Linked DNA regions of Homo sapiens: region 2 is linked to region 1. The links are contacts of gene promoters, found by promoter capture Hi-C in blood cells and fetal thymus (Javierre and others, 2016). All regions are on one chromosome and are shown on one strand. The core of a region is centred on a gene start or on the middle of the fragment in contact, and the rest is flanking DNA. Distances in the headings are between cores, read along the strand shown.

What was found. The method cuts DNA at HindIII sites, captures the fragments that hold promoters and counts their contacts. A CHiCAGO score of 5 or more calls a contact.
Region 2: a fragment that was not itself captured here is called in contact with the fragment with the promoter of ITLN2 in region 1 in 1 of 17 cell types (M2 macrophages); the score reaches 7.1 in M2 macrophages.

What each region holds. Positions count from the first base shown.
Region 1 is chr1:160,951,238-160,956,289 of GRCh38, forward strand. It overlaps ITLN2 (intelectin 2), which reads right to left and starts at 3,572. Exons shown (of 8, transcript NM_080878.3): 1 at 3,490-3,572; 2 at 3,150-3,213; 3 at 1,383-1,496; 4 at 1-53. The coding sequence starts at 3,504. The HindIII fragment of the contact is 24,751 bases long and covers 467-5,052 here.
Region 2 is chr1:160,425,828-160,430,862 of GRCh38, forward strand. VANGL2 (VANGL planar cell polarity protein 2) reads left to right here. Exons shown (of 8, transcript NM_020335.3): 8 at 1-2,843. Among named protein-coding and RNA genes, the nearest start is that of VANGL2, 28 kb to the left of the region's middle. RefSeq lists an enhancer at 4,041-4,270. The HindIII fragment of the contact is 421 bases long and covers 2,722-3,142 here.

The DNA of each region.
Region 1 (5,052 bases), core at 2,322-4,821:
ACAGAAGGTCTGGTAGACAACACCATTCTTGGTGCGGAGAAAATACAGGCCATCTGTAGAGAGAACCAGCCCAGAGCCTCCCTGTCTGAGAGCTCAGGGTTCATCTCAGCTCCGTGAATAGAAAAGCCCTAGGAAGTCAAAAGCACACTCAGAAGACTCCAACACATACTTGCTGGAAGACGATGCTCCATGCATCTTGTGTTCTGCTCACCTATGAGCAGAGGCACTGACTGTCTTGGCTTCACACTATCTTTTCAAAGAGTTTGTAGAGCAAATAGTCTTAGAAGAGACAGAGATGGTATCTCCCTCTCGACAGTGCCACCCTGTGGCCAGGAGAGGCCAGAAATCAGCACACGCCACATCTGATTCTACAGCAGGATAGGGCCTCTGTGCAGCTCAGAGCAAAGGTTGTGCCCACTTCATAAGATTCAGCTTCCCTAAGCTCAGAGTTCCCCTCCTGTTCACAAGCTTGCAGGAGACTGGCTCCACGGTGGCATCCTGGTGACCTTGCACATTTGCGCATAGGCCACATAGGGACAGCTGACCTAAGTCTTGGCAGAAAGCCTGTGGTCTTCCCCAAACATGGAAAGATGGGAACCTTGTGAGGAGCTGCAACAAGGTCACTTCTCACCCCCCTTCCCATCTTTCGTGGAGGCTGTCATGAGACAGCTGTCATAACTGTGTCATCATCTCCTGGGTTCTGAAGAGGTATGAGGCTTTTTGCCTCACTCACCCCCACCCCGTAGGGTACACAGGCTATGAAACAGCTATGGCAGCATGGACTGGCTCCTCAGCCACTGCCCATGTTGTGTTGTCACTCGCCCTCTTTTCTGTGCTGTCTTGTGGGGCAAGGGATGGGAAAAGCTGACACTTTTGCCGATCTTGAACTTGCTAGCTATGTGAGTAATAAACTCTCTGGCTCTAAAAAGGGTTTGTTGTTTCCTTGCCAGCCACATTTGTCAGCCAGCTTGACAAACCCACTACTTGGGCAGATGTCACCTGGCCCAGTACAAGAAAATGCTGATGCTCTGGCTACTGCTATTTCTGTGATTAATAAAGCTCTTTGTCTCTGGCTCGGGAGTTTCAGGTTTTCTGCCAGCATCTATAAACCTGGGGCAAGTAGGGGCAAATCTCAGACGCATCACAGTTCTTGCCACCACCATAAGCATCACCAGGAACACTGCATTCTCTCTGTGTTCAGAAGACTTTGTGACTGGAATGGGACACAAAAGCCTCAAAATTCCCACTAGAAACCTCCTTGAGTAGGAGCTGGGGGCAGAACAGGCTCCATATGGATATGTCCCTCCTGATTTCCATGACTGGGCTCTGTTGAGCTAAAAAGTGGCTTCAAAGAGAGAATGCTGAGTTGGTTCATTACTCACCACCTGCACTATGGCAGCGTTCCTTGATTTCTTTGCAGCTTCTAGGCAGGGAAGAAAAGGAGAAGGCACAGGTTTCGAATTCCCTCGAGAGCATCTCAAGAGAAGAGGCTGCTGCTAGAAAATGTGAGAATGAGTCTCATTAGAAGTCTGACCACTGAGGCCATCTTTCCTGGCCAATCTCTGCCCCTGTATCAACTCATCACTCTGCTCTGAAGTCCCAGGAGGTCAGGGATTCCCTATGCTAAGACGGTCTGATCCAACAGCTGGTATAGGTTAAACACCTGGAATCTTCCACTCGACTAATTTTAATTAAATACCTACTGTGTGAACTACCTAGACACCGGACAAAGACAATTTGACACATTTCTTCAAGAGACTACATTCTACAAGGAAGGAGCACATGGAAAGGGACCCAACTGAGATGGGAGGGCAAACCCACTAACGGGGGTGAGGCCTGGGAACTGCTGGGGAAGGGACCAGCTGTAACTCAGAGCAGGCTGATTTTGATGGGAGAATGGGAGCTGGCTACAGGACAGGAAGGAAAGGGGAGAGTACACCCCAGGAAGAGAAGAAAGCACATGAGATGGCCTGAAGCAATAACAGAGCCCAGCCCAGCCCAGCCTGCCAAAAACTACAGGTCAGTCGCTTATTGTGGCTGGAACATATGTTGTAATACAAAGAAGTCTGGAAACCAAAGCTGAAAAATTAACAGAGGCCAGTGGATGAAGGGCCATGTATATAAGTCTAAAAGCCTAGAAATCATTCCAAAAGCCTGGCAGAGCGGGAAAAAGTGTAAAATTACAGGACTCAGGCCAGGCACAGTGGCTCATGCCGGTAATCCCAGCACTTTCGGAGGCCGAGGAGGGTGGATCACAAGATCAGGAGTTCAAGAACAGCCTGGTCAATATGGTGAAACCCCATCTCTACTAAAAATACAAAAATTAGCTGGGGTGTGGTGGTGCACACCTGTAATCCCAGCTACTGGGGAGGCTGAGGCAGGAGAAGCTCTTTAACCCAGGAGACGGAGGTTGCAGTGAGCCGACATCACGCCACCGCACTCCAACCTGGGCAACAGAGCAAGACTCCGTCTAAAAAAAAAAAAATTACAGGACTCAAGGTAAAATCCAGACAAACCCTGATGACAGTGCCTCCTTGAGCAGACACTTAACATCTCTGATCCTTTTTCTTCATCTTTAAGATGTCATTAATAACTTCTTTATACGCATGGAGATCAAATGAGATGACATATGTAAATGTGCTTTTTTTAACTGATGGATTGAAATAAACAATAAACCCAGTATCAATGAAAAAATATCACTATTGTGCCTACTGGAAGAATAGAATTGTGAGGATTCTATTCTCACAATATCCTCCTCTGCGACTAGAGGAGGGTGTACCCTGGACACAGCACTGATCACCCAGCTGCCTCTGGAGATCCCAAGGCCAAGGCCACAAGAGCAGCTGAGCAGGGACACAGTTCTTACTCTCTCACCCCATGAACCCCTCACAGCCACAGAAGCAGAGAATCAAGCCCTAGGAAATACCTGAGCTAACACCCTGACTGCTTCAGACCAGACCCCAGGAGAGGCCAGAAATCAGCACCCAGTCCACACCTCAAGTTGGCTGCCTAGCCTGGGTTCCCTGCCTCTCCAGAACTTCCCCTTTGACCCTTGACTTCAGAGCCCTGCCCAGCTCTACTCCCTCCAGGCCCTGCACAGCAGAGGGGAGCCCAGGAAACTGCAGCTCCTACTCTCAGAAGCCATTTACCTGCACTGCACCCACTGGTGGCCACAGAGAAGAATAACAGGAAGCAGAGTCTGGTCATTGTCCTCTAAGGAAAAACAAGATGCACAAGGTCACTGGCTGGCCCTTCCTTTGTCATCCTCTCGTTCTTACTTCCTAACCTTTCTGAGTCAGGAATCCTCAAATGGAAAGTGATGGGCTCATGAGCATTCTAAAACCTCCTGGAATATGCCCCACGGCTGTCCAACACTACAAATACCCAAGGGGCCATGGGCTCATTTCCCTGAAACTCTAAATCTCTAAAACTGAGACCTGAGCTGGCATCATTGCTCCCACACACATGGATCAAAAACATTTTTCTCACCAGCATGGACAGCATCCTTACAGATGCCAGGAGCTGATAGTTCCCTTCCTGTGGACACTCGGAGCTCCCCTGCAGAGGATCCTGATGAAGGGTGAAGTGCTGGTCCCTTTATGTGGAGAGCTGTGGAGAGCCAAACCACCTGAGCCCTGCCCAGCCCAACCCTGAGCAGCCTAGGCTGCTAGCCCCTCCCTCTGAAGCCCTTCCCTCTGAGGGTACCTGAGCCTGGGACCGTGGAAATGAGAAAGGACGTGCGACTGGCTGGAGGAGCAGGGAGCTGTGTTCCTGGCCACACAGGTGACTGTCGCCATCTGAGGAGGGGCATCCTGCTTTGCCAAGGCAGGCCATACAATGTAGCAGTATCTAATCAGATTCGTGGATAGGTCACAATCCTCCCCTGCGTTCTCCCTCTCCCACCTCCCCCAGATGCCCTGGCCCCCTAGACACAACTCTGTCAAGAAATCATCCTTTTAGACTGAGGTGACACCTCATGAAAAATAAATTAATTAATTAAGAATAATAATTGGCCAGGCACAGTGGCTCACACCTATAATCATAGCGCTTTGGGAGGCCGAGGTGGGCGGATTACCTGAGGTCAGGAGTTCAAGACCAGCCAACATGGTGCAACCCTGTCTCTACTAAAAATACAAAAATTTAGCTGGGTGCAGTGGCGTGCACCCGTAATCCCAGCTACTCTGGAGGCTGAGACAGGAGAACTGCTTGAACCCAGGAGGTGGAGGTTGCAGTGAGCCAAGACTGCTCCACTGCACTCCAGCCTGGGCAACAGAGCAAGACTTCACCTCAAAATAATAATAATAATAATAATAATAAATAAATGGGAAAAGAAGACATCATCCTTCCAATCTTTCCTCCAATTTCTCTATGAGGCCTTCCCTGACACCCCCATCACCAGACAAAGCTGATGGATCCTTCCTTTGTCCCACTATACACTGTCCAAACACTAATTATTGCATGTATCCTGCTGTAATTTTATTGTTTTATTAACTCTGTTTAGAAACAATTTGAAATTTATTAAATGTTGCAAAAATAACAATAATATAAAGCCACATATATGCCCTTTACCTAGATTCAACTATTGTTAATATTTCACCCCATTTGCTTTATCTTTCGTGTTCTCTCTCTCTCTCTCTATATATATATAGATATATGTATATAAAATACACCCACACACACAAAATTTTTTTCTGAACCATTTGAAGGTAAGGTACATACATCATGGGCTTTTACCTTTAAATAAATGCGTATGGGTTTTTTTTATTTTGTTTTGTTTTTTGACACAGAGCCTCACTCTGTCACCCAGGTTGGAGTGCAATGGCATGGTCTCAGCTTACTGCAACCCCCGCCTCCCAGGTTCAAGTGATTCTCCTGTCTCAGCCTCCCGAGTAACTGGGATTACAGGCACCCACCACCACGCCCAGCTAATTTTTGTATTTTTAGTAGATACGGGGTTTTGCCATCTTGGCCAGGCTGGTCTTGAACTCGTGACCTCGTGATCCACCTGCCTCGGCCTCCCAAGTGCTGGGATTATAGGTGTAAGCCACCATG
Region 2 (5,035 bases), core at 1,682-4,181, 530 kb before region 1:
AGAGAGCCACAGTGCCAAACTCCTCCAGGGCAGCAACTGGCCCTCCTGTCCCTCACCCCAGCCACAACAAACCCTGGGTTCTAGGGCAGGGATACTCCTGCCACACAGCCCGAGTTAGAAATCTCCTTGCTAGGAGCATTTGCTTCCACATATATTTAGAGCAAAGAAGGATCCCATCCTTTTCCCAGAAATCTCCACCTAATGTTTTTGGTTTGTATGGTCACGTGACCATAGGCAACCACGTGGAAACCCTCTGTGACCACTTTTCCAGGGACTTAGGGGAAGGTACCTTTCTTCCAATGTGTCTTCCTAGGCAGCCCCTGAGGAGGAGGGCTGAATAGATCCCTGAGGTTTTGGAGAGACCCCCATCACTGACTCCTGCTCCCTAACCCTACCCTCACTTTCGTCCCCGCTCTTCCCAGTGAAGGATGGTATGTAGACTCCTGTACAGACATAGTGGCTTGCAGACCCTGACCCAGCCCCTGTGGTCTTAGACAAATGTTTTTATTTTTGTCACCAGCCACCCCTGTCCTGCCGCCTTCTCTCGACTCCAGAGACCTGTTGCCTCATCTCTTTTGGGGAAGAGCCGGCAGCTCCTCCTCATCCCCTGCCTTAAGTCCAGTTCTTTGCCTCAGGGGTCTCGTTTCCTTGGCCTTCCAGGGTCCCCACCCCTTTTCTCCCTGCCTGATTCTCTGAGCTCTGGGCTCCGTCTGTATTGGGTTGAGGGGCAAGGATTACTGCCTTTTGTAGGTACTTCACCCCTCACCCCATTTTAGCTTCCATAGTCTTTGCACCAAATCCAAATTCTTGATAATTTAGATCTCATTTTGAGCAAAATTTGCTGGCCCTCTAATAAATATTTTCAATATAAATCTGAGCCTTTGACTCAGACATTTTTGCCAAGGAGAGTAGAATTAGGAAGTACCCATATACATCCAGCCAGGATCCACATGGAGGACCTTTCTGATGGCTGCAATGACTAGGCCATTCCTCTGAGTAACTCACAGTGTCCTTTTGTAGGCCCTTCTTTTCCCTGAAAGACTGGTTGGTACTTACCTTGCAGAGCACATCCTGGGATAAGATCCCCAGTGTCTCCCCTGGGAGGCTCCCCCTCTGTGTAGCACCAGCCCTGGGAATGATGGAGCCTAGTGATCGGGGTTTCTCCTGCTGTCCTTTCTGCAAAAGTTCACTTGTTTACCCACCGCATGCTAGAGAGGAGCTCATTGGCCAATGCTTACCTTGTCCCCAAAGGGGTGGGTTGTGGAGCTCACTTAGGCAGGGCCTCTGGCTGGGGCCAGGGTTATGAGATAGGCCTGTATGAAATATGTCCTGTTCTGGGGGTCTGTCTCTTTTCTTCTCTTCAAAAACTTTGTGTCAGAGAGTCCCTTCTGAGTCACATAAATACCTCACTATCCTGGAAAACAGGGCCTGGATGGTGACTGGGGTCATTGCCTTTGTGGACAGGATGGAGTGTGGTGTGGTCTGAGGAGCAGGTTGGGGTGGGGGAGAGGGAAAGGATTTGGGATCTTAGTTGCTGCCCTAGGTTAGGGGCTGGGGAGTGTTTATTTTAAGATCCTGCCATGTTTTTAATCACTGTGATTTTTTTTTCATTCCCCTTTCCTAAAAAAAATTTTTTGCCTCCAACTCTCTAAGCACTAAGGGCTGTGCCTGAGAATGGTAGCATTTTGGTCTTTTGCTTCAGAACTGTGGTATCTTTGTCTTTTTTCATTATTATTATTATTATTATTATTATTATTACTATTGTTTTTTAAAATGTCAGGATGAATTGTCAGACATATGGCCATGTGTTTGTCCTCTGCTTCTCCCCTGTGGGAAGTTGTCTCCATGCTGTGAACTGCTGTGGGGTGTGCAGCTGACTCAGTCCCTCTGAGCAGTTTCCCCACTGTGTCTGTCCCATCATGCGCTGGATCTGCTCATTCTCCTGCTGTGGGGGTATGCCCACCTCTTACCCCCTTGACACCATAGGGCTGCTGTGGCTGGGCCTCACCAGCACTGTCTTTTGTGTGACTCATGGCATCCTCGTTCATCCCCACCGTGCCTAGCAGGCCTTCCTTTTCACCACCTCGGAACGCTTGCCTTTCCTCCCTCCACAACAGGACGCTGTGCCTCAGTCCTTCACCTACCTCGCCACTCTGCCACTGTCCCCATTGGTCCTTTCTCCTAAACTGGTCTTTGTGCTCTCTTTGTTTTTTCTTATTTCCCTCTTGTCTCTCATTTTTTCTTCCCATTCCCCTCCCATTTCAGCCCTTAACTTTTCTCTTTCCCATCTCCACTCAGTATTCCAATGGCAAACCCTGATGATGTAACACCTGCGATGAGACATCGGACTCTCCGGAACTTTCTCATCTGACACGTCTTTTTCCCAGGGTTCGTACTTCTCCTCCATTGGTCCCAGGCTAACTCCCCTGTTCCTCTGTGGTGTCTGTCAGTCCGTCTGTCTTCTCTTTCCTCTGCCCTTCCCACAGGGCAGTATCTGCTGATGGATTCAGTCCTGGTGTGTGATTGTTGTGATTTGTTCTTCCGTGCGCAAAAGGAAGAGGGCTTTTTGAGTCCCTTCCAAGTGAGATTGTAAATGTAGAATTTTCCACTGTTGGATCTAGATTTTTTTTCCTTTTTTTTGGGGGGGTGGGGTTACAGAGCTGAGACCTTGTGCATGCATGTAGAAAATTGTAAAATGTAAATTTTTTTTAATATATAAAAAGCTTGTTTCTACAGTTTGCAGTGGATCTAAACATTACGGCAATTTTAGGATTTTTTTCTTAAACATAGGAACTAAAACTGTACAAATTTTTTTTATATAAAATAAAGACATTTGACTTTTGTGGGGGCATTCTGTTGCTTTTCTTTCTTTACAGGAATGGGAGCAAATGAGGGCCAGGGAATAATGAATATATTCCTTGTTAGGGAGGGAATGGGCAGGAGGGGGCAGTGTGAGCTCATCATTGCTCTGCAGGCCTTCAGGGTGTGTTGGAGAGAAATGGGAAAATGAAAAAGGAAATTGCTTATTCTGAATCCTGATTCTAAAGAGAGAGAAACAACAATGTGAGGGCTTAACCACTTCCTGGTGTAGTTGTCAGGATAGAGAAAGAAAGATTACTTCCTGGGTCCACCCTCCTGAGCAAGCTTGTGTCTGTATGGCCTCTAGGGCAGGAGTGGGTTTCTAAAACGTATTTCTAAAACATAAAGTGCCATAGGAATTTCAGGGGATAGTTGAGATTTCAGTCAGTGGTGACAGCCCATCACAATTCATTGAGACAAGTTTCTGTAGTATATATATTAGTTCTAAATATGTAGAGAGTTCAGTGCTCTGTTGTCACTGTAATGCATGTAATCAGGTACTAAAATCACCCTCAAGAGATTGGGTCCCTTCTCCCAGTCTTACCTGGGCCTGACCTCTGTGACTTTGGGCAAGATGCTTAGCATGTAAACAGCCTGCTAAGGTTAAAAACAAGCATTTCTGTATGGAGGTGGCCTATTCACTAGATTTCCTCCTCCTCTCCCCTGCCTCATACTCTGCCAGGCTCTGGGGATGCAAAGGCAAGAGAGGCTCCATCCTGGAGGATGACCCAGTTTACAGGGGTGACAGGCTGGGTGACCCTAGTGCAAGGCTTCATGGCGTGTTCTCAGGCAGAGTGTAGACAAACCCTGGCTGGATTCCAAGGAGCTCGGGGAGTTTCCTTCAAGAAATCTAGGAAGTTTGTTTAAGACTCAAGATGGGGGAACACACTCACCTTGAGATTACATTTTGTTCATCTAAGTATTCCTAGAATTGAAACCAGTTCCTCGCATATAGTTGGTCCTCAATAAAAAATTGTTGCATGAATAATGAACTGAACAACTAACAATACAATAGGGGCTCATGAAAGGGATCATATACTTGCTTCTCCCTTTAAAATTGCACTCCAGTCTTTCTCATGTGAAAACAAACAAAAATACTTCCCTTGAAATTGCATCCCCATTCTCACGGCTCTGTTCTTTCTGTAACTAGGTTTGTAGAATAGTTTCACTTGCTGTTTCCAGTTCATTTCAGAGTCAACTTGTGACTTACATTGTGACCAAATTTCTACCTTAGCATGCCTCTGAAATTATTCTTGTTCTCAACAGCCAAGTATAGTAAACACCTTTTAAGTTTATTCTTTATTTAGTGCCTATGATGTTCCCAGCCTGATACTAAAGTACTTTCTCTGGTAAAGATACTGGATATGGTCCTGCCCTCACTGAGCTAACCTTGGTGGACCCTTGAGAAGGCTAGTTAACCTCAGGGACCTCCTCTTGTAATGCTGGCCCCAGGAATTCATAGATTTAAAGCCAGACCTCAATATTTGATTGATAAGATCATATTTTCTCTAGAGGTTTGCTGCAAGCAAAAGTGATAATCCTGACCATTTGTCAGGCAGCAAAGGGTATTTGTAACTTTTGTTTGAAAGGATGTGTTTTCCACAGAAGTTCTTCACATAGCACTGAAGTTAGGGACCCAGCTTGGTGGATTGTCAGGGTCATGCCTGGGACTTCATGACATTATATGTGATTATATGTGATTACATATGCTGCCCATGTGTGATTTTTGTTTTTTAGCCTTTGCCTTTGAAATACAGCCGAGAGGGGGAACTGGGGGCTGGGGCTCTGGCTGAGGAGACATAAAGATCTTTAGACCAAGGTCTCAGTGATTTGTTATTAGTTTTTTATTTTTTAATTTTAATTTTTTTGTTACTATTTTTTTTTGTTTGTTTGGGATAGTTTAATGGCTTCTACAGACTGAAAGTCAGCTTGCTTAAGGTAACCCTTGGCTTTTTTGTTACTTTAAGCATATGATAGTAATGCTCTTCCAATTGCCAGGAAGGCTGGGGTAGGGGAAAGTCAGCCTTTGGAAAAGCACTGCAGCATTAGTGTACACATGGTCATGGAAGATGCTAGAGAGATAATAAAGGACCACCTACATAGTAAATCTTGGAGAATAGTCATCCCTGTCTAGCTCCCCAGTTTCTTTTCAGGCTGAGAATGGGGTCCATTTCTC